Regions from separate parts of the Homo sapiens genome. Here regions 1, 2, 3, 4, 5 and 7 are each linked to region 6. Evidence: promoter capture Hi-C in 16 types of primary human blood cells and fetal thymus (Javierre and others, 2016). All regions are on one chromosome and are shown on one strand. Each heading gives the region's core, a stretch centred on a gene start or on the middle of the fragment in contact. The rest is flanking DNA. Distances are from core to core; before and after follow the strand shown.

Evidence for each region. Contacts are between HindIII fragments. The CHiCAGO score rates a contact against its expected background, and 5 or more counts as called.
Region 1: a contact is called between the fragment with the promoter of B4GALT6 here and the fragment with the promoter of RNF138 in region 6, in 2 of 17 cell types (fetal thymus and monocytes). The highest score is 7.2, in fetal thymus.
Region 2: a fragment that was not itself captured here is called in contact with the fragment with the promoter of RNF138 in region 6 in 1 of 17 cell types (total CD4 T cells); the score reaches 6.5 in total CD4 T cells.
Region 3: a contact is called between a fragment that was not itself captured here and the fragment with the promoter of RNF138 in region 6, in 1 of 17 cell types (fetal thymus). The highest score is 7.1, in fetal thymus.
Region 4: a contact is called between a fragment that was not itself captured here and the fragment with the promoter of RNF138 in region 6, in 3 of 17 cell types (activated CD4 T cells, non-activated CD4 T cells and naive CD4 T cells). The highest score is 7.3, in activated CD4 T cells.
Region 5: a contact is called between a fragment that was not itself captured here and the fragment with the promoter of RNF138 in region 6, in 1 of 17 cell types (non-activated CD4 T cells). The highest score is 5.3, in non-activated CD4 T cells.
Region 7: a contact is called between a fragment that was not itself captured here and the fragment with the promoter of RNF138 in region 6, in 1 of 17 cell types (fetal thymus). The highest score is 5.7, in fetal thymus.

Annotation. Positions count from the first base shown.
Region 1 is chr18:31,682,725-31,685,989 of GRCh38, reverse strand. B4GALT6 (beta-1,4-galactosyltransferase 6) reads left to right here and starts at 1,409. Exons shown (of 9, transcript NM_004775.5): 1 at 1,409-1,678. The coding sequence starts at 1,564. RefSeq lists a silencer at 273-1,312. The HindIII fragment of the contact is 10,803 bases long and covers 1-3,265 here.
Region 2 is chr18:32,538,090-32,541,776 of GRCh38, reverse strand. No RefSeq gene overlaps it. Among named protein-coding and RNA genes, the nearest start is that of GAREM1, 69 kb to the right of the region's middle. The HindIII fragment of the contact is 4,340 bases long and covers 208-3,687 here.
Region 3 is chr18:31,664,079-31,667,804 of GRCh38, reverse strand. It overlaps B4GALT6 (beta-1,4-galactosyltransferase 6), which reads left to right. Exons shown (of 9, transcript NM_004775.5): 2 at 1,433-1,549. Among named protein-coding and RNA genes, the nearest start is that of B4GALT6, 19 kb to the left of the region's middle. The HindIII fragment of the contact is 1,633 bases long and covers 1,393-3,025 here.
Region 4 is chr18:32,469,841-32,473,248 of GRCh38, reverse strand. It overlaps GAREM1 (GRB2 associated regulator of MAPK1 subtype 1), which reads left to right and starts at 2,367. Exons shown (of 6, transcript NM_001242409.2): 1 at 2,367-2,941. The coding sequence starts at 2,821. RefSeq lists a silencer at 2,093-2,612. The HindIII fragment of the contact is 1,838 bases long and covers 352-2,189 here.
Region 5 is chr18:32,556,229-32,559,933 of GRCh38, reverse strand. No RefSeq gene overlaps it. Among named protein-coding and RNA genes, the nearest start is that of GAREM1, 87 kb to the right of the region's middle. The HindIII fragment of the contact is 609 bases long and covers 2,123-2,731 here.
Region 6 is chr18:32,089,781-32,093,402 of GRCh38, reverse strand. It overlaps RNF138 (ring finger protein 138), which reads right to left and starts at 1,529. Exons shown (of 8, transcript NM_016271.5): 1 at 1,168-1,529; 2 at 517-703. The coding sequence starts at 626. LOC124904278 (a long non-coding RNA gene) reads left to right here and starts at 1,458. Exons shown (of 2, transcript XR_007066327.1): 1 at 1,458-1,548; 2 at 1,901-2,128. It also overlaps a transcript of RNF125 not described here. RefSeq lists a silencer at 691-1,110 and an enhancer at 1,781-1,830. The HindIII fragment of the contact is 10,157 bases long and covers 1-3,622 here.
Region 7 is chr18:31,640,654-31,644,080 of GRCh38, reverse strand. The region is part of intron 4 of B4GALT6 (beta-1,4-galactosyltransferase 6); the gene reads left to right. Among named protein-coding and RNA genes, the nearest start is that of B4GALT6, 42 kb to the left of the region's middle. The HindIII fragment of the contact is 1,180 bases long and covers 1,470-2,649 here.

The DNA of each region.
Region 1 (3,265 bases), core at 160-2,659, 410 kb after region 6:
TATTGGCTGCCCAGAAGCCTTTGCAGCGCCGCCTGAATACAGCGAGGATGACCCAGGGTTCACCTTCAGCGTTGAAGGCAAGTCCTGGTATAAGGGACGCACATAGGTCCGCGCCACATCCTGACACTGTTTCCACAGGAAGTGCGGGATAGGAGGGGGGATTCATTAATCCAGGTCGGAAATACACCTTGTTCCTCGAGGATTTTGGAAGGAAATTCCACCCGCGAAGTCCCCTTTTGGAGATGCCCTTTTCCTTTCAGGTACAGCATCCTTCATTATGTACCCCCAGGGTACAATGTATCCGGGGCTCGCAACGCGTCCCTCAACCCCCAGCAGCGCGGTCACCGCGGGGTCCCCGGGCGGGCGGGGGCGGCGGTGACGCAGGAGGCGGTGGGGCCCCGGTGCGGCGGGCGCGGGGAGGGGGCTGCTGGGCGCGGGCCTATCAGGACGCGCGGTGTTTCGGGCGCGGGGAGGGCGGGGACCTCCAGGTTTCCTCGGGGCCCGGCGCAGCGCCGCCTGCCGAGTTCCGAGCGAGCGCGCGAAGCGCGCAGGGGTCTCGAGACGTTCCCGCCGGTCCCGGTTTTCCTCCGCGGCTCCCCCGCCCCTTCACGTCCGCCTCTTTCTCCAACCAGACGCGGCTCCGACGGCGCTCGGCCTCTGCTCTTCCGGCTCCCCGGCTCTGCCCGCAGCGCGCGTCGCCCGGTTGCTCTTCGCCTGGTGTCCGCGGGCCCGGCGGGGGCGCCTCACCCCGGGCGCGCGGCGGTAATGCCGCTGCCGCCCTTGCGGCCAGGCAGGCAGCTGGCGGCGGCCGGAGTCGGAGCGCGTTCGTCGCTGGCCGGGACGCCGCCCTGGCCTGTGCTCAGCTCCCGCGGCGGCCGCGGGGCGCCGGGGCCCGGCGCGGCATGAGGAGGCGGCTCGGTGCAGGCGAGCGCCCAGCTCCTCGGCCCCGAGGGCCCCCGCGGGCCCCCGCGCGTGGCGCGCGCTGGTTGCGGCCCCGGCGCCCACGCTAGCCCCGCGCAGGCAGGAGACGCCGCGGCCCGGAGTAGGAGGCGGCGCAGGGCCTGCCGAGCGGACGCGGGCGGCCCGGACCTTAAGCACGGGGCTTCGCGGCGGGACCCCGCCGGGCGCGGGCAGCGGAGCCGGGCGTGCTGCAGTTAGCTGCCCCTCTCCGCAGGGGCGCCGCGGCGCGCAGCCTGCGCCTCCTCCCACCTGCAGCCCCTCCTCCCGCCGCTGCTTGGCGGAGAAAACGCTCCTCCTCGCCCTTCCCCGGCTTTCTTCCGTCCTGCCGTCCCCGGGCCCCTAGCCCCCAGTCCCCTCTCCCCCCTCCACCTCTTGTCCCTCGGCCTCCGCGCCTCCCCTCCCCCGACTCTCTGGCCTCCCATTCATTCCGTCCGCTCCCTCCCATTTCCTCTTTTCCGCTCGGGCCCTCTCCCCAGAGCCTCCCCGCGCGGACCCCGCTGCAGTCTCGGGGTTCTCAGCACATTTATGGAAGTTTAGGGCCTGGACAGTGGCCCCGAGTCCGGCCTGAGAGCGCAGCCTGGGCTGCTGGCAGGGAAGAGGAAGATGTCTGTGCTCAGGCGGATGATGCGGGTTTCCAATCGCTCTCTCCTCGCCTTCATCTTCTTCTTCTCCCTCTCTTCGTCCTGTCTGTACTTCATCTATGTGGCCCCAGGCATCGGTAAGCACCGAGACACACCCTCGCTTCCCCTGGTCACACCACAGCCAGCGCAGGCTGTTATCCGATGTTACTTCTGGGATTTGGAAGCTGTTCAAACAGGGGCCCGCAGAAAAGCGTTTTGTTTTAAATGTTATTTCAGACGTGTCAAACTGCTTCAGGGCATGGCTTTGGTATGTGAGTTTTGTTAATGCATGCATTTTGTTAATGCATGTTTGTTAATAACGTAAAAGATTGCATTAAATAGACGTAGCAAAATTAGTGTGATGGCCCGGGATGCCCTAGTCGCTTTCTTGAGTGTTCATGACAGCTTTATCCATTTAATGTTAAGTCTTTAAGCCTAAACTGAGTGCTTAATCGTAGTTTTATTCAAACACTCTCGGGTATAATAACTGGTTGTAAAAATATGGAGGAGCCAGCAGCAGGGAATGTGATTGAGTCCAACAATGTGTGTTTTCTAGGGTCCTAGGTCGCTTTTTTAGAATGGGGTCAGTGGACCCCATTCTTTTTGTGCCATACTTGGGGAATTTTAAGGCGATGAGTTGTCTTGTAAAAACAATGCTCCATTATTTTAGTCTGCTTGGGTGTTATTTTCAAGGGTACGTTGCCTTTGCTACCTGTTAGGATGACTTCTGAGAAAATAGTGATTAAAATAACCGTTATCTAAGGGAACTTGTAGTTTAAAATGTTAACCGGTTTATCATTTTTTGGCCTTTGGTGCAAAATACACTTTTGTAAAACTGCTTGAATTAACTTCTTTATTAAATATCCGAATTCCTCGTCCCCCATTTGTTGAAAAGGAGCCAATGCGGCGTTAATTCTAGTGAATGAGAATTATGAACTTCACATGCATATTAAAATATGTCATATTTCCAAAACTTTTCTGAGTTTTTCCTGGCTATTACGTATTTAATGTTCAATTACTTAGTAACAGTGAGCATCTCCTCTCATTTCTCCTTACACACTGTGGTCGTTTGAGCCAGTGCTCTTTGTTCCGAGTTAGCTAAAAATGTAATGCCCCTTACAGAGTGAAAACACCTGCAGAATTTTCAGATGGAATGATCAGGGCATTGTCTTGAGTGTAGTAGATTATTGCAGTGAATTGCAGCAGGGAAGGAAGATGGAAACCTAATCCAGACTGCTTCATTTCTTAAAATTACTATGAGACTTTTTCTTTAATAATTAATTTTTGGATTCAGTGAGGTGTATAAACTCAGATGATGATGTTTAAGAAGAAATGCATTGTGAAACGTTGACGTATCCCAAAATAGAAGTTTTAGGGTAAAGTTTGAAGAATATTTTAACATTATTGCAGTTTTCCTTTAGGCCAGAAAAAACAAAAAACCTCACAAAAACCTACCCCTTGAAGCCTATAGTACAAATGACAGTGGTAGCTTAGTGGATTTGATATTATCTAGATACTCAACAAGAGCTTTCTTTATTTTTTGCCATTTTGGAGTCTTATAAATTAACTCTTCATTCTATAGCAATTTTTACTTTCTCATGTAACTCTTTAAAAGTTTGGACATCTTTGGGGTATGTTTTTTTACTAGGAATTTAACTTTGAAAGATTTTGGAGAAAGTTTTTTT
Region 2 (3,687 bases), core at 1,128-3,627, 450 kb before region 6:
GCACTAGCATATAAACTACCAAGGAGTCATCAAGAAATTCTGAAGAAAGCTGCATCAAATTGCAAATGATATGACTTTCATCTAATGATAGGTATTAATTATACAGAGAAGACTGTGATAGGCCCTTAAAATGGGTGTTTGCATCCTCATTATTCAGTATTTCATGTCATGATGATAAAGCAATAATGACAGAATAATAAACAAGCTTCTTATTTATTTATTTGCCTCATTGAGAACGAGACCTTGAAAGTCAAATCTCAAAGTTTAGAGGAAGTGGGTAAAAGACTTACAAAGACACCTGCAAAAGGTGAGCAGAGATGTCAGGGATGAGAAGAATAAAGAAGAGACCAACCAATAGATAGATGGGGGGATAAAACCAATAGATAGATGTTTTTCTCTATGATAAACACATTCCTAAAATTTAATCAGAATTAAGATGGCAATTTTCCCTTTTAGGTAAGAGCAGCATTTTGTTGATGTGTTTGAAAATGCCTAAACCCTTTGAAAGAACAATAATTCCTTTAGGTGACATGGTAGAGGGGCCGTGGTGATACTGAGGGGAAGGAACATATAAGGTCCCCTGTCTTCTATGCAACAGCACCTGTCACTTTTATGATTGCTAAAAGCTCTACCAGCTCATGAGGCCCTAGTAGATCACACAGCCAGGAAGTGGGAGATGAAGAGTGGGTAGGAAAGAGCTGGAAAAGCTGGAAGGACTGAGATTGCTTGCAAGGAGAGAAATGAAGGCAGGAAGTGGCGGGCGGAGAGGCAGGGAGAGTGGTACAGGGGAGAACACTGGAAGCAAACCAAACCACCACCACACATGTGCCAAGGGATGGCCACAACCTTCATCATGATAATTTACTAAATAGTGCCTCATAAAGATTAAGGAAAATGGGGAGAGGAATGTGGTGAGTTGGGAGAGATGGGGAGTCACAAAGATTGACTACCTGGAATCCTAAAATAACTCTCTCAGAAGAAACTCTGCCCAAAATGCCCCATTTGGTTTAACACAAATAAACCTGCACCCCGACACCATCCAGCCAGCCTCCTTCCTGCCTGCATGCCTGCCTCTTCAGTATTTCTCAATGCTTTGAACTCTCATCAGTTGAATGTTTTGATGTATTTTACGAAACATTGGAGAGTCTTGATTGCTTATGACTCAACTAATCTTGTCCTAATGAAGACAAGGAAAATATTTTTCTTTAAAGAAAAATAAAGTGACCTAATTGTGTATCCATGGTAATTTTTATTTGAATATTATCTCTGGAGACAAAGGCAGAGGAGTCATTTTGGGTGTTTACAAATTATGTTATTTGCATAAGGATCTAATCTCACCTAGTTTATCTGGTTATTGATATGGGCATGGAAAACCAAACTGGAAAAGATAGATGATGGATGAATGTGGAAAATCCATTAAGTTAGATCCCACTAATTCAGAAATGGTGATATATCCAGCCTTGAGAAAACGTACCTCCCATTTATTTAAACAGTAGGCAAATTAATAATGTAAAAATAGTAGAAGAAAATACTGTTTGACCTACTAAAGCAAACAATACCTCACCTTACTCAGATATCAAGTACTATACATGTCTAAGTTTCAAATAGGAAACTCATAGCCTATTTTTCATGAACACGGTCATGAAATAAGCCAGTGGCAGACTTTTTCTTTTAAAATTTGGACCAATCTCTTATTTATAAAGTAAATAAAAGCGTAGCTAGAATGCTTTGTCAACTTAAAAGGACACTCTCAATTTACATACAAGATGTATGTTGCTATGTTCTAAAATTAAATTTGCATTTACCTACTAGTTATCTTATTTCTGGATCCTGGGACACTTTATCCCAAGAAACAGAGTCACTTTGTTCAGCAGACTCCAAAGTTCCCTGATCTTTGGTGAGATGACTGCAGAATAAAAGACTTAATGATTGTCTGGAACACTGGTTTTTATGTGTACATGGAGTATTTTCACAAAACAGGTGTCAAGATGATTCAGGGCGATTATATCTTCTGAGTAGGAGGAGAACAAGGAGAACAGAGATGTGACACTATCACATTCACATTCCTTGATCCATTTTCACATCTTAAATATTTTAAAAAGCTGGGAGATCATTTTCTTTTTGTTTTTTGTTTTGTTTTGTTTTTGAGATGTAGTCACCCAGGCTGGAGTGCAACGGCGCAACATTGGCTCATTGCAACCTCCACGTCCCAGCTTCAAGTGATTCTCCTGTCTCATCCTCCTGAGTAGCTGGGATTACAGGTGCCCGCCACCACACCTGGCTAATTTTTGTATTTTTAGTACAGACAGAGTTTCACCACGTGGGCCAGGCTGGTCTCGAACTCCTGACCTCAGGTGATCCACCACCTTGGCCTCCCAAAGTGCTGGGATTACAGGCATGAGCCATTGTGTCCGGCCAAAAGCTGGGAGATCATTGGTAAAACCTGTCACTCACTCTATCTAAATTCCACAGGAACCTACTGGCTTATTTAGACTTTGGAAGATATGTATGATAGCTACAAGTTCTCCCTGAAATACTTCAAATATGAAAAGTCAAGAAGGGAAGCCAAGGTCCTTCCTCTTTTCACAAAATTTGCCTTGACTCACTCACCTATGTTCATTGATTCATTGGTTCCATGAATACTTACTGGGTCCTATTACATATACAGTAATTAGAAAAAGTGAAGATTTAGATTCCCTTCCTCCTAAAGTATGTATAGTATGGAGGTTCTGGGGTTAGGGGTAGCACTTCGAGCAAGATTTGAATGGAAGTAAACATAAAACATTAAGAAAAATAGAAAAACAGGCACATTTTCTATCTCTTCTTAAAAGAAGAAGCAAAATTGAGTAGAAGGAGAGAAAAATCATTTCCTAGGAGGAGACTTGAGAAAGTATTTGGAGAATATGGTGGTAGTTGAGGTGGATTTGCAAAATTGTTTTCAGCATGACACGAAAGTGAACTGTCCAGGAGAGAGTAACTTGAGGAGCTAAGAAATTGACATGGAAAACTAAAAATATAGGGTGATGTTAAAATCATAACTTGGGATTTAGGTACATGAAAGGAAATATTAGCAAAGACTTTGGCAAGGTAGAATAGGCCATTTATTCAACAGACATTTGTCAAAAAGTCTGCTATGTACCAGACACTCTACTAAGCACTGGGAATAAAAAGTTGGTTAAAGACTTTTCTACCGATAGTAATCCCGTTAGACTAACAGCACTGGCGTCACCTGGGTCTTATTAGGAAGGAATCAGATCCCACTCAACATCTAATGAGTCAGAATATGCATTTTAACAAAATCCCTAGGTGATTCCTACCAACCTTAAGTTTAGGAACTACTGACGTAATACATTGTTCGTATTTAAGGAGCTTACAGATTATTGGAGGAGACAAGCAAACCTGTAAATGCAGTGTACTATGATAAATGCTGTGAGAGAAGATGGGGAAGCATGCTGAAAAGCAAGTCAAACAGGGGGAAATGTCAAAGGAGGGAGAAAAAGAATACAGTTGTGAACCTATATTACAAATGCAGCACAGCTGTGCCAGTATCGTCTAACTGAAGCCATTTACCAATTGATAGAACATTCATTTTATTTATTGTTTTTTTTTTTAGAGACAGGGTCTTGCTGTCACCTAAGCTGGAGTGCAATGGTGTGATCGTAGCTTACTGCAGCCTCCAACTACTGG
Region 3 (3,726 bases), core at 960-3,459, 430 kb after region 6:
AAATGTAGTCAAAATGTGTTGTATTTGTAAACTAGTATAGTAAATTCAGGTGTAGGCAAGTTAAATCTAATTATAAGACTACTTTCTAGAAAGCCTGTAGACATGCTTTTAAAAAAGGTATCTGTAAAGCTTATGTGAAACCTGGATTTCTGTTTGTCTCTTTTTTCTGGAGGTGAAAGAAAAGTTTTATTTTACTCTGCTTTTCTAGTAGTTTAATTTATGCTCTCTTCATATGTACTTTGAGCAAGTTCACATTTACATAAAAAGTGGGAAAGAAGGTAGTAAACATTAAATTTCTCTCATCCCTCTATTCCATCTTGAGAAACTGGAGCAGCACTTAGAAAATTAGTCAGCATTCCTAATTTTTTTCATTCAGCATTCATCTTTGGAGAGTGTCATTACTGTATTCAGAGACAGCTTATCTTAAAATTGAGTCATTCACTGAGGCTTGCAGTTTCTTGGTTTTTGCCATGATAGTGAGCCTCTGCCTCTCATCTGAATGGAGTTTATGATTTTTTAGCTTTGTGTTTAGAGACTTTAAAGAAGAATGCACTACTTGCACACCTGCCTTGTGAAAACGAGGAAACTGAGATCCAAGGAGCTGTACAAAGTTATGCACAGCACTAACAGAATTGGGACCAGGAAAGGAGTTTCTGACTTAGTTCTGTGCCTCTGGGGAGTCTGGACATCTCAAAAGTTAGGGATTTTTGCGATAAAGCTTTGTCAATTTACCAGTTTCTCCCAGCAGAAGAAATTTGGGTCCTATTTTTGAAGCACTTATTGTGAATAATTAAATTGAGCTGCTTTAAAAATACACATTGATTTTGATTTTATTTGCTTTTACCATCCTGGTAGAAAGATTTGTGATTGAAAGGGAGTGTAAAAGTTTAATTAACTCTTAGAAATGACCCAAACAGATACTGATCCTAGATCACCCCTCCCCGCAAACACATCAAGAATTTTCAGGACCATTGCAAGATCTTTATTCCTACTAGATATTATGGGATTTATAAGGAATCCTAGCTTTTGTGAAGTTTTTGGTAGGAAATTAATATATAATTAGAGAAACTGAATTTTGTAACTGTAGGATTGAGCATCTGTAATAAAATGCCTTTTTGAAATTTCTAAGTATATTTTATAGTAGAAAATCACAGATGTGGGGGTTCATTATAATATTTTAGTTTGTTCAGTTAGTTTCATTCTATTTGATAGGTGGGTATTTCAACTTTTTTTTTGTTTTTATTCTTAAAAAATCAGTTTGTTTTTGTCAGTTTTTATAGTAGGCAATATTTTATATTTCTGTTTTGCGTTTGGACGTGCTGATTGAGTCAGTTTATGTTTATTGGGCACTTCCCCAATTCTGAATATTATTTTATTAAATAAAAAAAAGCTTACTGTGTTATGACATTCTTTCTCTATTTTTCTTTTATAGCCAACACATATCTCTTTATGGTACAAGCTCGAGGTATAATGTTGAGAGAAAATGTGAAAACAATAGGTCATATGATCAGGCTGTACACAAATAAAAACAGTACGCTCAACGGTACAGGTAAGACTACTTCCTGCTTAACCCCTTGTAGTTACAAAGCAGTAAACCAAATCTTTTACAGTCTGTTTTGCCTTCAGGTAACTTCCTGTTAAAGATGAAGAAGGTATCTTCCCCTAAGCGTCCTGGTAGATTATTTTACTGTGCAAATCAAGACTGTTACCTATTTTAGGATGTATGAACGTGTGGTCACAAAAGTGATGAGGTTTTGTACAGACACTTAAGTTAATTCTTGTAAACAAAATATAGAAAGCAGCTTCTACTTTTTCAATTCGTATGTTGTATTTAAGAGAAATTAACCAGAGAATAATTTATTCATCTTAGTAAGCCATACTACCATCTCTCTTTATGTTCATTCTAGTTCCTAAGTTGTTCTTCCAACTAGGTCTAGAAAATAGTTGTTTTTAATTATAGAAGATTGTTAATAGTGTTATGGCCTTTTTAAGGAGCTAAAGGAGAAATTTTATAAAATTGGAAATTGGTAGCTACTCCTTTTTATTTTACTTATTTATTTTTTTAGACAGAGTCTCGCTCTGTTGCCCAGGCTGGAGTGCAGTGGCGCAATCTTGGCTCACTGCAAGCTCCATCTACCAGGTTCACGCCATTCTCACGCCTCAGTCTCCCAAGTAGCTGGGATTACAGGCGCCCATCACCACGCCCGGCTAATTTTTTTTTAAATTTTTGATAGAGACGGGGTTTCACCATGTTAGCCAAGATGGTCTCAATCTCTTGACCTCGTGATACGCCCGCTTCAGCCTCCGAAAGTGCTGGGATTACAGGCATGAGCCACTGTGCCCGGCCTACTCTTGTCTTTTTAAAATGTTACCTGGAAGTAGAAGCTCCATTAGAATTCCAGGAGGTTAAAATCTAATAGGCTGAACCAATAATTTAATGATGGTAGAATTGATGTAAATAGATTTCACTATTGTGGAAGAATGTGAATGCTCGTTTATGGCAGGGTTGCCACAGTGTCTGCCAGGGTATTATTAGGTGTTACTTTAAAGGATTCAGTGGGGTTGTCAGTTGTTGTACCCTTTATGGTCTCATTTTGAACAGTTAAAAATAAAGATTTAATTTGTGTTAGTAATTCTTCCTTGTGTCACTGTAAACCTACACATTCTACTAAGAGAAAGTCTGTCTTTCAGCTGTAGATGTTCTTTCTTAAATGTATGTCAAGGTGGGTGATAGTTTTAGACCCTTCTAAAAATTCAAGACTGTGACATATTGATCTCAATTTAATATCACATGTGCTTCTATAAAATCCATTCTAGTCATTTGCCTAATATGTTTATGATGCCACAAATCAAAACACTCTTGTTTTATTTTAATTTTTTAACCTTGAAGGAATTTTTTTAGAAGAACTGCCTCAGCATAGTTGATGTTTTAATTCTACAGTAAAAGTCTCATTAACTATTCTTTAGCATGAATGAGTCTTCTGAATAGTAGGTCAATTTTAGAAGTTTAAACATTTTAAAAGCTTCTGTAGGATTTGTGCTGGTTGAATAAGTTGATTGTAAAAATGTTCACTGAAAGTTTGTTCAACTGAAAGGAAATAGACATCTTTAAATTGGTGTATTTGTGTGAGTGCTAAAAATTTGTGCATATCAGCTTGTTTTCCCTGGGGTATGAATAAGGTATATGTGTGGATGTTGAGCTTGATTAGGAGGAATGATTACATGGGCAAGACAATCTTTCCCCATAGTATCCTGCAACCAAAAAAAAAAAAAAAGGAAAATCCTTTCCTCCTCTCACCAAGTCATAGTTTCAATAAAGACCAAAGAACCAATGCATACTTAGATTAAAGTTTGCTTACTTTTATGAAACTTTGAAAACTTTTCATAGGGTTCCTTTACTAATGGTAAAACTGTTCTCAGGAAACAGTCATTGTATACATTAGGGATTAGGTTTGGATGTAACAGAGACCTGCCTGTGGTGGTTTAAACACATGAGGCTTTCTGTTCTCATGTGAAAGAACTCTGCAAGTTGGATATCTGTGGCTGTTATGGAGGCTCCTTAAAGTAAGTCATCACACACTTTTCATTTTCTGCCATCTGTCATGTGGCTCCATGGTTAACTCATAGTCTAAGATGGCTGCTGTTTGAACTTGGGTCAGTAGGAAGGAGGAAAGCGAGAACAAAGAAGAACAAATAAGGTACCTCTTTTCTGGAGCCTTCCCAGAG
Region 4 (3,408 bases), core at 21-2,520, 380 kb before region 6:
GGAAGTACAGTTCAGCCAGACTGAAAGATTACCCCTCTCAACTGCTTTTTGTTTTTGTTTTCGGCAGTTTAACCAAAACTCTCCATCTCACAAATAAAATCCTTCTGTAAGAGTTCTTCCAGGACATGAAACTTACTAAGAATTTGCAGCTCACTAAAATTTCTTCCTTTTAATACTCAAGATTGAAATAAAACCTTTTCTGCAAGGTCAGCAATAACAGATCTAATGTAAGTCCTTTATTGATTTTTAAAAAGTTGATTACATTAATCTTTTTACTTTTTATCTTGTCTTTAGGTCAAAAGTCACCAGTCCTTTTGTGAGAGGAAACTACTTCTCTTATTCTCTGAAGCTTTTAAAGAGAATATAAAAGTAACAAAGTCATTTTTTTAAAAATCAGCCTACCATATAAGGGTTTAGGATCTACTTACAGGTTGAAAGACCCTTGACCCTGCCCAATCTTAGATGTTTCCTATGTCATTTTTGGATTCTGAGCTTTATTTCCAGAAGTGATTAATTATTCAGAAAAAGAAATTAGCTGGCACTTAAATCTTTAAAGTTTTGAAACTTTTTTTTTTCAGACAGAGTTTCGCTCTTGTTGCCCAGGCCAGCGTGCAATGGCACGATCTCGGCTCACTGCAACCTCCGCCTCCCGGGTTCAAGCGATTCTCCTGCCTCAGCCTCCTGAGTAGCTGGGATTACAGGCACCTGCCCCCACGCCCGGCTAACTTTCTGTATTTTTAGTAGAGACGGGAGACGGGGTTTCACCACGTTGGCCAAGCTGGTCTCAAACTCCTGACCTCAGGTGATCCGCCCGCCTCGGCCTCCCAAAGTGCTGGGATTACAGGCGTGAGCCACCGCGCCCGGCCGAAACACTCTATGTGAGCAATTCTTAGAACTTTATGGACTTCTGATTCTGCATACACTCTATAGTAAAATACTTCCCACTTTTTTCCAAGACTTTTTCAAAAAATCAATGTGAATGACCCAAAGGTCAAAACTTTCAGATGAATTTTGTGAAAATTATCGCTAATGCTTCAAAGTGAGAGGATCAGGAAGGTGGGTGTAGAAGAATCTGTGTTTTTCTTCAAATGTTAATGGAGTGGTTTATTAGCACAGACCTTTTAAGCCAGGCCACGAAAAGGCAGCGGGATGTTTTCAAGTCCCCTTGGGCTGGCGAAGCGGGTACTTGCTGTACCTTATCAAGCACTGAACATTGAATACGTGTTGAAAACAGAGCAGATACGCAACCTTAGCAACCACTCACCTCTGCTATTTTAACAAAATGTTAAGCAAGCGAAAGAAAGAGAAAGAAAGACAGAAAGAAAGAAAGCAGATTAGCATACAAGGCAGGACATGCCACCTTTATATTCTGAGCTCTGTCCACAGTGAGCAGGCCGTGTCAAACATCGGGAGAGACAGAGAATGATTGATCATGCAAAGCAAACTGTAGGTTTGAATCCCAGCACGGCCATCTACGAGTTATAAAATCTTGCCAAACTACCTAATGTCTTGGTACATATACCTAGAAAACGAGAATGATCCCAACCTTTAAGATGAGAAGAGAACTGAATGGGAAAAGCGGGTGAGAACAGCTGACCCCAGCAGCCTCCCAGTAACCTAGTTTTCCCTTCCCATCTCCGTGTCTACGGTGTTTGGTGGCCTCATCAACTCCCGTCGCCTCCAGCAGCTCGTTCACTCAGTGAAGGTCCTAGACCGAATGGCCACCTTCCTGTATGTGGGTACTCATCACCCACCACCTTTCCGCTTTTCGGTGCTTTGCCCTTTTTATCTTATCTAGTAGCCAAAGCTGAGACTGTTGGGAGTCATTTCCAGCTCCGATGGTAGAGGAGTAGGGTTGAGGGGAAACGCCAAGGCGTGCTCCACGCCTGCCGTCCGCAGCCCCGTTGGGCTGTGGTACTCTTCTGACCAAAGTCTGGGTCACCGGGAAGCAAGAGGGAGCGCCACTAAAGGTATCTTTTGTGCCTTGTATTTAGCCACCGCATTGCCAGGATGGGAGTGGAGGCGGACGGTGCCCGACACCACGACTCAGGGAGCGATACCTGAGCTCGCTCGGCAATTCCCGGGCTCCGGGGACGGGCCTGGGCGGGGAAGGAGCCGGGGCGCGCAGCAGCACCCGGCGAGACTGCAGGGCGCCCGAGTGGTCGGACGGGGGAGCGAGAGCTAAAGCTTGCGGAGCGCGCCGAGCCGCGGGCGCTGGCGGCCCCGGCCGGGGAGCTGACGCGAGCCTGCCGGGCCGCGGGAGCTGCGGGAGGCGGAGGCCGAGCTGGGGGCGGAGCGGGCGGCGCCTGGGAGGCGGAGGCGGTGTCTCCCAGAGCTGCGCAGGCGTTGCTCGCACCTTGTTGATTAGTCAGTGCTGGGAGCGCTGCTATGGCGTTTCTCAGACCCGCGGCTCCTCCTCACACGCTCGAGGCGGAGGGAAGGAGGGGTAAGAGGAGGAGGAGGCGAGCGGGCGGCCGCCGCAGCTGCAGACCCAGGGCCAGAGGAGGAGGCGGAGCGGGAGCCGCCGCAGCCACCCGGGCCGCCGCCGCCGCCCGCAGCCGCGCGGCTGCTCTGAGTCTTCTCCGGGCGTGAGGGCACGCGGGGCGCCCCAGCCATGCCCCGCAGCGGCAGCTGAGCCGGGCGCCGGCCCCCTCCCTCCGGGCCGCCCCAGTCGCCGCGCCCCCCCGGCTGCCCGCGGCCGGAGCTGCCCGGCGCCTCCCGCGCGCCCCAGACCGCGAGCGCGAGCAGCGGCGGCCGCCGAGGCGCGGGTGGTGCCGGTGGCGGCGGCGGGGGAGCGCGGGACAGGAGGCTTCGGGGAAGATGGACCCGGCGCCCTCGCTGGGCTGCAGCCTCAAGGATGTGAAGTGGAGCTCGGTGGCCGTGCCGCTCGACCTCCTGGTCAGCACTTACCGGCTGCCCCAGATCGCGCGCCTGGACAACGGTGAGTCCCAGCTGGGGCGCGGGGCAGACGGGCGAGGACAGCCGTCTCCACGCGGGTGTGCGCGCGTGTGCTGGAGAGGGTGGGACCCGCGGGGAGTGGGCTGCCCGCCCCTGAGCGCCGGAGTTGGCCCGAGCGGCTGCCGCAGCCCTGGCGCGTTGCTCTCAACTCCCCCCAGCAGCAGACAAGGAGGTGGAAATCAGAGTCCTTGCAGTATAATTAAAAAGGACGCCCTAAAAAAAAAGTCAACATAGGGAGACCTCTGCAGATCGTAATCTTGGACGCCAGATATCCCTCCCCACCCTCCTGCAAGAATTACTCAACCAGGGAAACCCTGAAGAGTTATCTTAGGCAACTTTCTTGAGAATATCATTGTGCTCCGGGTGGCATCTTAATTTGGGTGCTCTCCTCCCTATCTCCCCCATCCCCCGCCAAACAGATTTAAAGGAAAAGCTCCTGGGTGACCATTG
Region 5 (3,705 bases), core at 1,178-3,677, 470 kb before region 6:
GCCAGCCAACCAACTGCATTCCGGGGTAACCTCATTATCACTCATCTTCTACCCCAGTGCCTTTCTGCTGCTGCCATGTGGGATGCCACATTTGATGTTTGCATAAACCTGGAAGTGGGGTAGAATTAATATCTCATGAGGTGACCCTTGACCAACAGTAACAAGACCCAAAGTCTAAATACTCCTCTAATACATCCCTCGGGTGGGCAATTTTGAGGCATATCTGACACGGTTCCTCAAAGGGTCCCTAAGAGAACTGAGCTGCAGTTGCCCACAGCGGTGACCCAACTCAATAACATTCCCCTTTGATTAGCTTTTCCTTCTTCTTTCTTTCAACCCTTCCTATCTCCCACTCCCATTCCTTGGGAATCACTTCTCAAAATAAGCCATCTGCATGCAACACCTTGTTTCAGGCTCTGCTGTTTGGGGGAACCCAGGCCAAGGTGTCTTCGTTACATATTTTGCATGATTTCAGAAGAAAGGGTCAAAATTTCCGTTATCACTTCTGTAGAAGGACAGTATAACTTTGAGTATAAAGAATATATGGTAATAGCTAAGTTAACGTGTTTTTTTAAATATTATTCACATAGGTAGAAGAAACATTTTATTAACCTTTGCCAAAGCATTATTAGATGCTATAGGCTGGGCGCGGTGGCTCATGCTTGTAATTCTGGCACTTTGGGAGGCTGAGGCAGGTGGATCACCTGAACTCAGGAGTTTGAGACCAGCCTGGCCAACATGGCAAGATCCCATCTCTACCAAAAATACAAAAATTAGCTGGGCGTGGTGGCACGTGCCTGTAATCCCAGCTACTCAGGAGGCTGAGGCAGGAGAATTGCTCGAACCCGGGAGGCAGAGGTTGCAGTGAGGCGAGATAGCACCACTGCACTCCAGCCTGGGCAACAAGAGTGAAACTCTGTCTCAAAAAAAAAATTTATTAGATGCTATAAACAGATATTCGTTTTTCATTCAGGCACAAGTCTCCCATTTGTCTGCATTTGTCAATTACTTCCATGCTTATATAATCCAGACTTTAGAGTTTAAGATTAAAATAAAAGGATTGTTATAGGTGTCTATCATAAGTCATGTACTGAGAGCAATATTTAATCCATCTTTTAATTTAGTGCATCTTTTAACTTAAAACATCTTTTATAAGCCCTATAATTAATAATGGTCTATAGTTTTTATGTCAATTTTTACAAAAATATAAACCTATAGTCTTAAAACAGAATATCCTCCTTTATGCAGTTGTCAGACAAAATGTTTCCATATCATATTCTAGTATATAACAAATTAAATCCTAGAAAACCAGCTTCATTGAATTAGAATTAGTTTCTCTTTTGAGGATTCAAATCTCTTCTAATTCTGTCAAATATATAATTGTAAAAATTTATTTTCCATTAAAACTTAATATTAGAATTTATATATAATAATTCTCAGGTGTCATGACTTTTAAAGACTTTTGAGATAACTTCCTAGATTAATTGAAATTTGGCATTAATATATAGATCTCTGCTCAGAAAAAAAATGGGTACATTCCTAAAGTACAAAGCATCCAATTTATGGAGTTATTTTTACCCCAGTTTTATGTCATTTTAGCACCATAAACAAGGGTCTCTAAGTTAAAGACTAATGGGAATAATAGCTAATAAGTTGTATTAAAGTCTTTTTAATACATTTCCTAGATATTGAGAAATTAAATGATTTGCAAAATCAGAGGGTTTCCAATGCTTGCATTTTACAAAATTATATGAGGTCATTATGAGGTCATCAGCTGCCAAATAATTAAAAATACTTTTGATTATGAATTACTATATTGTTCTGGCATACAACTTAGAGGGACTTCAAATAACTGAATGATAGTCCTATCTCAAAACTTCTTCCATTCCACCAACTTTTGCCAGCAAGTTTTCTCAGCACCCACCCCTAGGTTAAGAAAGAAAGGGAAAAAGAGAGTGAGGAAGAAGGATGGAGGAGGTGGGGAGGGAGAGAGGGAGGAGAAAACTGAAGGTGAATTCTGTCCCATTATAGTGATAAGCAATATTCATCTGTAGATTGACAAACTGATGGGGGAAAATGCCATCTTTATCCATTTCAATAGGAGATGCATTTTCAATAAGCTTTACACTTTATATTTTATAATTATGAATTTTGCAATACATTTATATGCTTTTGATGAAGTTTACACAAGTAATTTTGTAGACAATTCAGCACATTAAAAACTGTTAGCAGTTACAGACTCATCAAGGGTAGTAACAGCTCTTTAATTTAAATGTGCAGGCATACTTTTATTGTCATAGCAGTGTGCTTCTAGGAAGCAATTTTAGCAATCCAGGCTTGAGATGATTAGGTCACAGACTGATGTGACTTTAGATGTAGAAAGGAAGGAACAAATCTCAGATATTTTTTAAAAGATCCTAAAGGCACAATGACTTACAGGATATGGGAGATGAAATTAAAGAAGGTATCAAAGAAGACTCAGGAATTTTGACTCTGGGTGCTGGGAGAACTGTGATTTCAGTGACCTGATAATGATTAAGCCACTGCTTTTAGGAAGCTAAGGCTTGTGAGGGTAAGTCAAAACTAGTGTTCAACATGGTCTTAAAAATGCAGAAGATAGGATAGCAGGGGGCTGGTAGTCAGAGCATGGGTGAGCTTCATATCTCCCGGCATCTTTGTTTTGTTTTTCTTTTTTAATATTTCAGCAATCTTGGACCAAATTAGGCAAGCTTAGACCTTGCAGCTAGGCTCCATCTATATATAATGGTCATCTCTATTTAGATTATTAGTGACCTCTAACATCATTTTAATTTGAAAAAGTCATTATGATTTTATTCTTATTTTTCACAACACTCATTGACTAAAAGCTTAAGCACCAACCGTGCCCACTTTTCTCAGGAATCCTGCGGCTTCACGGTTCTAAAGAGAAAGTACCAATTTTGCTAAATCTTCCCAGCTATTCTGTATAAAGCCATTCCCCAAGAGTTAAAATGCTAAATCACAAGCACTTCCCTGCTTTCAGACGTGACTCATTCTTCAACTCCAGACCTGAGGGGTTGATGTTTTTTACAAAATGTAATGCTTTTCAAAATGCATTTTTTAGAGCTGTGCACCTCTCTCTGTGTAATTACATGCCACGTGACTCAAGTTTGAGATGCATTTTTTTCTTCTCCCCAGTGACGTCTGCTTATAACCAACTTCTCAACCTTGTCTTATTGTTAAACATTTTATTTTAAGTGACACCAACAGCATTTTAATTTTACTTGAAAAGATGTCAAAATTAAAACAATAAGATGGGCTGGTTCACTTTAGCTGCTGTAGTACCATGTTGTGTATAAGTCCATTCTCACACTGCGTAATTCATGAAAAAAAGAGGTCTAATTGACTCACAATTCTGCAGGCTGTACAGAAAGCACGGCTGAGAGGCCTCAGGAAATTTACATTCATGGTGTAAGGCGAAGGGGAAGCAAGCACCTTCTTCAGAGAGCGGCAGGAGAAAGAAAGCGTGAAGGGGAAAGTGCCGCACACTTTTAAACCATGAGATCTCGTGAGAACTCACTCACTATCACGAGCAGAGCAAGGGGGAAATCCACCCCCATGATCCAATCACCTCCCACCAGGCCCCTCCTCCAACACATGGGCATTACAAGTCAACATGAGATGTGGGTGGGGACACAGAGCCGAACCGTATCATTGTTGTTTTAA
Region 6 (3,622 bases), core at 280-2,779:
CGAGGGGACGGACCAAGGTTCTGAAAGAGGAAACTTGAAAGCAGGGCAGGTCGCGGGGCGAGCGGGCCCGCGCGAGCACCGCCGGCCGCTTTTGACACTCGACACCCCAGCCTTCACCCGGGTTGCTAAGAAACAAAAAGGCTCCAAGATCCCTGCAATTCCTCCCGGGCCTGGCGGAGACGACAGGGGCCTCCGGGGCCTGAAGACGCCGCAGGGAACGGCCTGGCCACTGCCCCGGGGGCGCGAAAGCCAGGGAGAGCGGGAGAGCGGGAGAGCGGGAGAGCGGGAGAGCGGGAGCTTGGGCTGAGGGGGCTGGACGCGGGGAGCGGGCCCCGAGGCTGAGGAAAAGGCCGCCCCGGGACTCTGAGGGGCGGGGAACGGGACCTCGCGGGGCAGCGACGCTCGGGCAGGCCGCGGCGGGCTCGGTTCCCGCCAGGCGGCAGCCCGGGGTCCCGGGCCGGAGGCCGGGCCTAAGCGACAACCCGGCTCCGCGAGGGGGAGGGGGCGTCTACTCACACGTGCTGACAGGCCGTGGTCCGCACGGGCGTTTTGAGCACCTCCTGACAGACGGGGCAGTAGAAATCATCTTCGGTGTAGGACGTGGCCGCAGAGAGGTCCTCGGCCATGGCGGGGGATGGGGAAACAAGGCGATGGCGACAGCGGCAGCGGCCGAGGTGACGGTGGCGGCCCGGGGCCCGACTCCCTACATGAACCCGGAGGGGGGAGGGGGATCGCATCAGGATACAGCGCGCGCCAGGAAGGGGGCGGGGCCCTGGGTAGGGCGGGGCCGAACGCAGAGACGCTACTGCCGCACGCGCCGGGCAAGAGGCGACCCCTCCCACGGCTCCTCCCACAGGGGGCTGGATGGGGGACGGTGCTTGGCGGGAGGCTGGGCTCGCAGCATGCCGTGGGCCCGCCCCGCTCGCCCCTCACCCCGCCCCAGGACGCGGCCTCACGCTCTAGGCCACGCCCTCACCGGGCTCCAGGCGCGGGCTCGCGCCCCGCCCTCAGCCCCCGTCTTCGCCCAAGGCCTCCCTTTTCACTGCTTTTCCGCCTCTACTCACCCCGACCCCGAGCCCCGAGTGCCCAGCCCGTGTCCGCGGCTTCCTCCCCGCCCCGCTTCCCGGCACCCCGGCCCCTCCACGCTTCCGCCGGGGAGACTCTCACCTAGGAGCCCCGAAGCGGCGTTGTGGACGGAGCTGCTTTTCCTTCACGTGTTCGTAGAGACCCGGCCCAGCGCTTTCCTCGAGCTTCCTGTCCGGCCGCCGCTATCTTCGCAGCCGAGGCCCCGGGGCAAATGGAGGGCGGCGTGCGCTGTGCTTATCGGCCCCTAACGGGGCCGGAGCCGAGGCTCATGGTGCAGGGAGATTCGCCCGCCGCCGCCAGCAGCTCTGTCTTGGCATTGCGCTGCCTACAGCCTACCCGGCCGTCACCGAACGCGGGAGCGCCGGGGATCTGGGCGGAGGAGCCAGGAGAGGCGGGGAGGCACGGGGTGTGAAGTGCGGCCTGTATAGCAACCGGCGCACGGCGCCTTCCGCGGGTTGTGACGTAAGCAGCTGGGCGCCCGCGGTGACACCTGCGCCTCCCCGCCCCGCCTCGCTAGGCCCGGGACCCCAGTTACCTCTCCTGTCAAATACATTGGGCCTTTCAGGAAGTTTTCGTCAATGTTCAAGATTTAGTCTTTACTATTTGCCCTACCAGAATGTTTTGATCTTGTCAAGATGTGTTATAAACAAATATTTGTTACGGGATTTTAATCCTTTGGGGGCAGGATTAAAGTTTCCTTGAGAGGATGTCCACTTTCTCCTTTAACAGCATGACCGATGCTTAAATACGGTCGCAGATGCAGTCTTCTACTACACCTTTGGGTTGATTTTTGATTTTTTCTTTTTTTTTTTAGCTTTGAAGAGAAATGCCGTAGAAGCATGGACGTGGCTTTTCACCAAGGTTATTCACTAATTTAAGTGTTTTTTTTAATTTTATTTTATTTTATTTTATTTTTTGAGACAGGTACTCACTCTGTCTCCCAGGCCGGAGTGCAATTATCTGTACAATTGATAATCTATAAGATGGTCCAACCTGCGTAACAGAGTGAGATTCCGTCTCAAAAAAAAAAAAAAAAAAGAAAGAAAAAAGGCCGGGCGCGGTGGCTCACACCTGTAATCCCAGCCCTTTGGTAAGCGAAGGCGGTTGGATCACTTGAGGTCAGGAGTTCAAGACCAGCCTGGCCAACGTGATGAAATCCCATCTCTACTAAAAATACAAAAATTAACCGGACATGGTGGTGGGAGCCTGTAATCCCAGGTACTCGGGAGGCTGAGGCACGAGAATCGCTTGTACCCGGGAGGCAGAGGTTGCAGTGAGCCGCGATCGCGCCGCTGCACTCCAGCCCTGGCGACAGAGTGAGACTCTCAAAAAAAAAGAAGAACAAAAAAAGGATAAATCGATAAGATGGGATCCACAATGACGTGAAAGAAGCTAAGGAAAATCTGGAACATTATACAGCATCTACAATTAGCTTCAGAGAAAAGAAAGGTTTTATTACCATCCTTTGTTAAAACCCTCCCCCATGGTCTAAATGAATAAACAGAAGCCATTTAAGGGACTATTTAAATCAATTCTGCCATTTATTGTCTATGTTGACATTGGCATTGTTAGGTGTTATGCAGATGTCATGAACTTTGCTCTCAACCTGTTTACATTATTACATATCTATCAGAATGAGAGAGAAAAAATGGTATTTGCCAAAGTATTAAATTTTGCATTAAACGATGGCTATAATGAGGATAGGAAATGGAATGATTAGAAATATATAGAGTTAACAGAAAACTTTATGGAGGAAATGGGTTTTAATGTACATCTCAAAAGCATTGATTCCTAGAATAATAATAATTTGTCCAATGAATAGCTAATTCCCTCTACCAAACTATATTTTGTATTTTTGTTGCTTTTCCTCCTTAGCAGCAAGCGCAGTGGAAGCAAGACAAGAAAGCTAATACTAGCTTCAGATTTCCTGGAAGGAGGAAGAGCACGTGACGAGAGGGGCAGCTAATAGCAGTAGTTCAGGTGCTTTTCACATTCACTTATAAAATGGTTCTTTGAGTTCAAATTTTTAACAGCCCAGAGAAGAAAACTCACTTTTTTTCTTTTTTCTTTTGAGACAGAATCTCACTCTGTCACCCAGGCTGGGGTGCAGTGGAATGATCTCAGCTCACTTCAACCTGCGCCTTCCAGGTTGAAGCAACTCTCCTGCCTCAGCCTCCCAAGTAGCTGAGATTACAGGCATGCACCACCATGCCAAACTAATTTTTGCATTTTTAGTAGAGACAGGGTTTTGCCATGTTGGCCAGGCTAGTCTCGAACTCCTGGCCTCCAGCGATCCGCCCACCTTGGCCTCCCAAAGTGCTGGAATTACAGGCCTGAGCCACTGTGCCTGGCCTACATTTTACTTTTTTGATAATTCCACTCATTTCATTCATTCTGACCATTTAGGAAGTAAGGTGTATTTTCTGTATAATAGTGTTTCCCATTATTCATTGGGAATATCTAACCATAACATTAATTTTGTGACCCTAATTTTATTTGCTTCATTCTTTCTCTGCAACGGCAGCTTTACTTATGT
Region 7 (3,427 bases), core at 810-3,309, 450 kb after region 6:
CTCTTCATATTTCTTGATTGATTTTCCTCACATTTGTAGCTATATGAAATGCGGCCCAATTTACATACATTCCACCTTTTAAAAATAGCCTGGGCACATAAATTATTTTTAACACTTGGGTGCTGAGTGTGTATATTGAATGCTAATAGAAAAAGAAGCATACTCAGTCACCGAGGCTGTGGGATAGCATGGAGGTTCATGCTCAGATAGTTGTTTGTACAGAATGTAGCACACCCCTCAGGTGTGCTCTGGGTAGCATACTAGTAGAACAGTTTAGGATAGGAAAAATGAAGTATTTTTCTCCTGTTTCTAGTGATCTATACCAGATGGATTTTAAATTTTTTGTTTGTTTTCTTCTCATTTTCCAGGAGACAGGTGTATCACATGAGTATTTCCTACTTAAAGATATTAGTAGACTGACTGTAAACTACATATGATTCAGTAGGTAACAGTATGGAAAAGAGTTCCTGGGAACAAACTAATTCAGGGATCTAAGGTTCATACCTGTAATCCCAGCACTTTGGGAGGCTGAGGTGGGCAGATCACTTGAGGCCAGGAGTTTGAGACCAGCCTGGCCAACATGATGAAACCTCATCCCTACTAAAAATACAAAAATTAGCCGGGCATGGTGGAACATGCCTGTAATCCCAGCTACTCCGGAGGCTGAGGCGTGAGATTTGCTTGAACCTGGGATGTGGAAGCTGCAGTGAGCCGAGATCGCACCACTGCGCTCTAGCCTGGGTGAAGGAGCAAGCTGTCTCAAAATAAATTATTTTATTTAGGAACTATATGATAATGCTGCTTTTATTTCAACTTTTAGCAAATCCTTCTCAGAATGTAGTCTCTAGTTCAGAATTACACAACTAAAGGTATGAAAGGAATTTTGGAGATGATTCAGAAGTGAGCTGTACTCATATAAATATTATATAACTATCATCTCACTAAATATTTAGTTAAATGGTTTCTCCCCCTACCCGTCCCTGCCTGCTTACTGATAATGTTCCATTCTCATATTGGAACAGTGGAGAGAGAGGGAAATAAGAAATAACTAGATTTATGTTAAACATCTGTCATCAACTTGATTCTTAATATTTGAGGCCCCTTTTTTAAATGAGAAAAATACCAATGCAGTTAGTTGATGGCAAATTAATTAGAACTGAGATCTTTCAAAACTAGTAATTTTGGCTGGCCAACCTGTTGAGACCCCGTCTCTACTAAAAATAAAAAAATTAGCCGGGCGTGGTGGTGCAGGCTTGTAATCCCAGCTACTCGGGAGGCTGAGGCAGGAGAATTGCTTGAACCCGGGAGGCAGAGGTTGCAGTGAGCCAAGATCGCGCCCACTGCGCTCCAGACTGGGCAACACAAACAAACAAAAAACCACTAGTAATTTCAGCAATTCCTAGGTATTCTTGAATGCTGCAGGTTTAAGTAGAAGATCTGCGCAGGTTGGACACCTTCTGGGGCAAGCTTGTATCTAAAGAAGAACATGAGAATGCTATGCAGGTCATTAAAAGTGAAGTGTACCTGTGACATTGACTTTCCATTCAGATTTCAGATGGAGGGCTTGATGAACAACTTTGGTCTATAACTTCCAGGCTTAAAGAACCAGGCAGCTGCTTGATGCTCTTGTCTACCCAGAGGCCTGGAGTTTCATTTATAGTCCAATGTACCTCAAAGATGAGTCTTGGCCTCCCTGTTTCAGAACTACTTGAGGCATATGGTGAAAATGCTGATTTTTGGCCAGGTGTGGTAGTTCAAACCCGTAATCCCAGTGCTTTGAAAGACTGTGGCAGAAGGATCACTTGAGCCCAGGAGTTTGAGGCTGCAGTGAGGTGTGATCACACCACTGTACTCCAGCCTGGGCTATAGAATGAGACCCCCATCTCTAAAAGAAAAAAAATGCAGATTCTTGAACTCAGTCCTCAAACATTCTGATTCTATTGGTGGGAAGGAACAAGAACTTGCATTTTTAACCAAGTGCCTCCAGTTTGAGAACTGCTCCTGGAGGTACTGGAAATGAGGAGGAATAGGAAGATGAAACTAAAAACACTGAAGGAGAATGAGGGCTTACTAGCTTCTGCTTACTCAGTGGCAGATAACTAGATTCACCTTAAGGTTACCAAGCCTAAAGCCATGTCATTTAGGGACAGTGTAGCTGGTGGTGTGCTGAAAATTTGAAAGCAGGACAGAAACTTGGTGGGAGAAATTGATGTGATACACATTTTTCTTGATGTTCTCCTCATGGTGTATATAGGAGAAAATAAGCAAGGGAAAAAATGGTGCATATGTTCAGCAAGATTTGTGGTTTTAAAGTAGGAGCAAACTGAATGGAATAATTTTGCTTGATCAAGAGGTGGTGAGGAGAGATTCAGGAGGATGAAGTGTTGTTTTATCAGAAGATAATGACCAGATATTCTCGGTCTCCACTGGAGGTGTATCAGCAAGAGAGTGGCTCAAACAGCAAATTAGGGCACATAGAAGAATGTCCTGAAACAGGCTATTAAGCCTTAAAATAAATGATCACAGAACACTGAGATCTTTTCTAGACAAAAAAATTGTAAACTATGGAGGACATTCTTCCACAAACACAAGAACTGATGTGCCAGATGAACTTTTAAGATATTGTTTAGCTTTATTTTAATAAAAGCTTTGCCTTAGATTTATCACATATTCACAATATTTAATAACCCTCTCATTAAAATTTGGACATCTATTTGCTGTTAGCACATTAGGTTAGCTTATTTGAATTTGCCAAGACACTGGTAATTTCTTTTATTACCGTCTCAGTTTCCTTATGAGATTAAAAGAAAAAACACTTGATATTTAAATACTTCATTGAAGAGATTATTGTATTAGGAGCTAGAACTTTACTTTTTATTTATCCTTATATGTTCAGCTCATCACTCAGTCTAATTGTCTTTAATTAATATGCACTGTCTTTAATTGGGACTCTGCAGCCATTTAATAATTTCTTCCCTCAAATATCTGTAATTGGCCTTAACTGCTTTTACAGCTCATTGACATTATGTCATAGGTGGCCAACTCGTGGCCAAATTCAAAATCAAGAAGGGCAGGCTTGACTTACTAAGCTACATGTTATCACATGGATATGCTTTAGATAAGGTTAGTGGTGGGATATGTACTCACCATCTAACCTCTTTTGCTCCTTTTACTTTTCATAGCACTTTTCCATCCTAAAAGTAAACCCCTGAGCTAGCTTCACAGTTGTTTTGATTCGGGAATTCCTTGAATATGCCAGCCATTGGCGCTGAAGCCCAGCAGTAAGTGCCCCTCAGTATATAGTTCCAGTACAGTTGGCAGCCATTGTGCGGGGGCAGGAAGGAGGTCTTGGATGTTGGGTCGGTATTGCTGGGGTAGCCTCATGGTCCTCAGGCTTCTGAGCCAAGAGAGACGTTATGGGGAAACC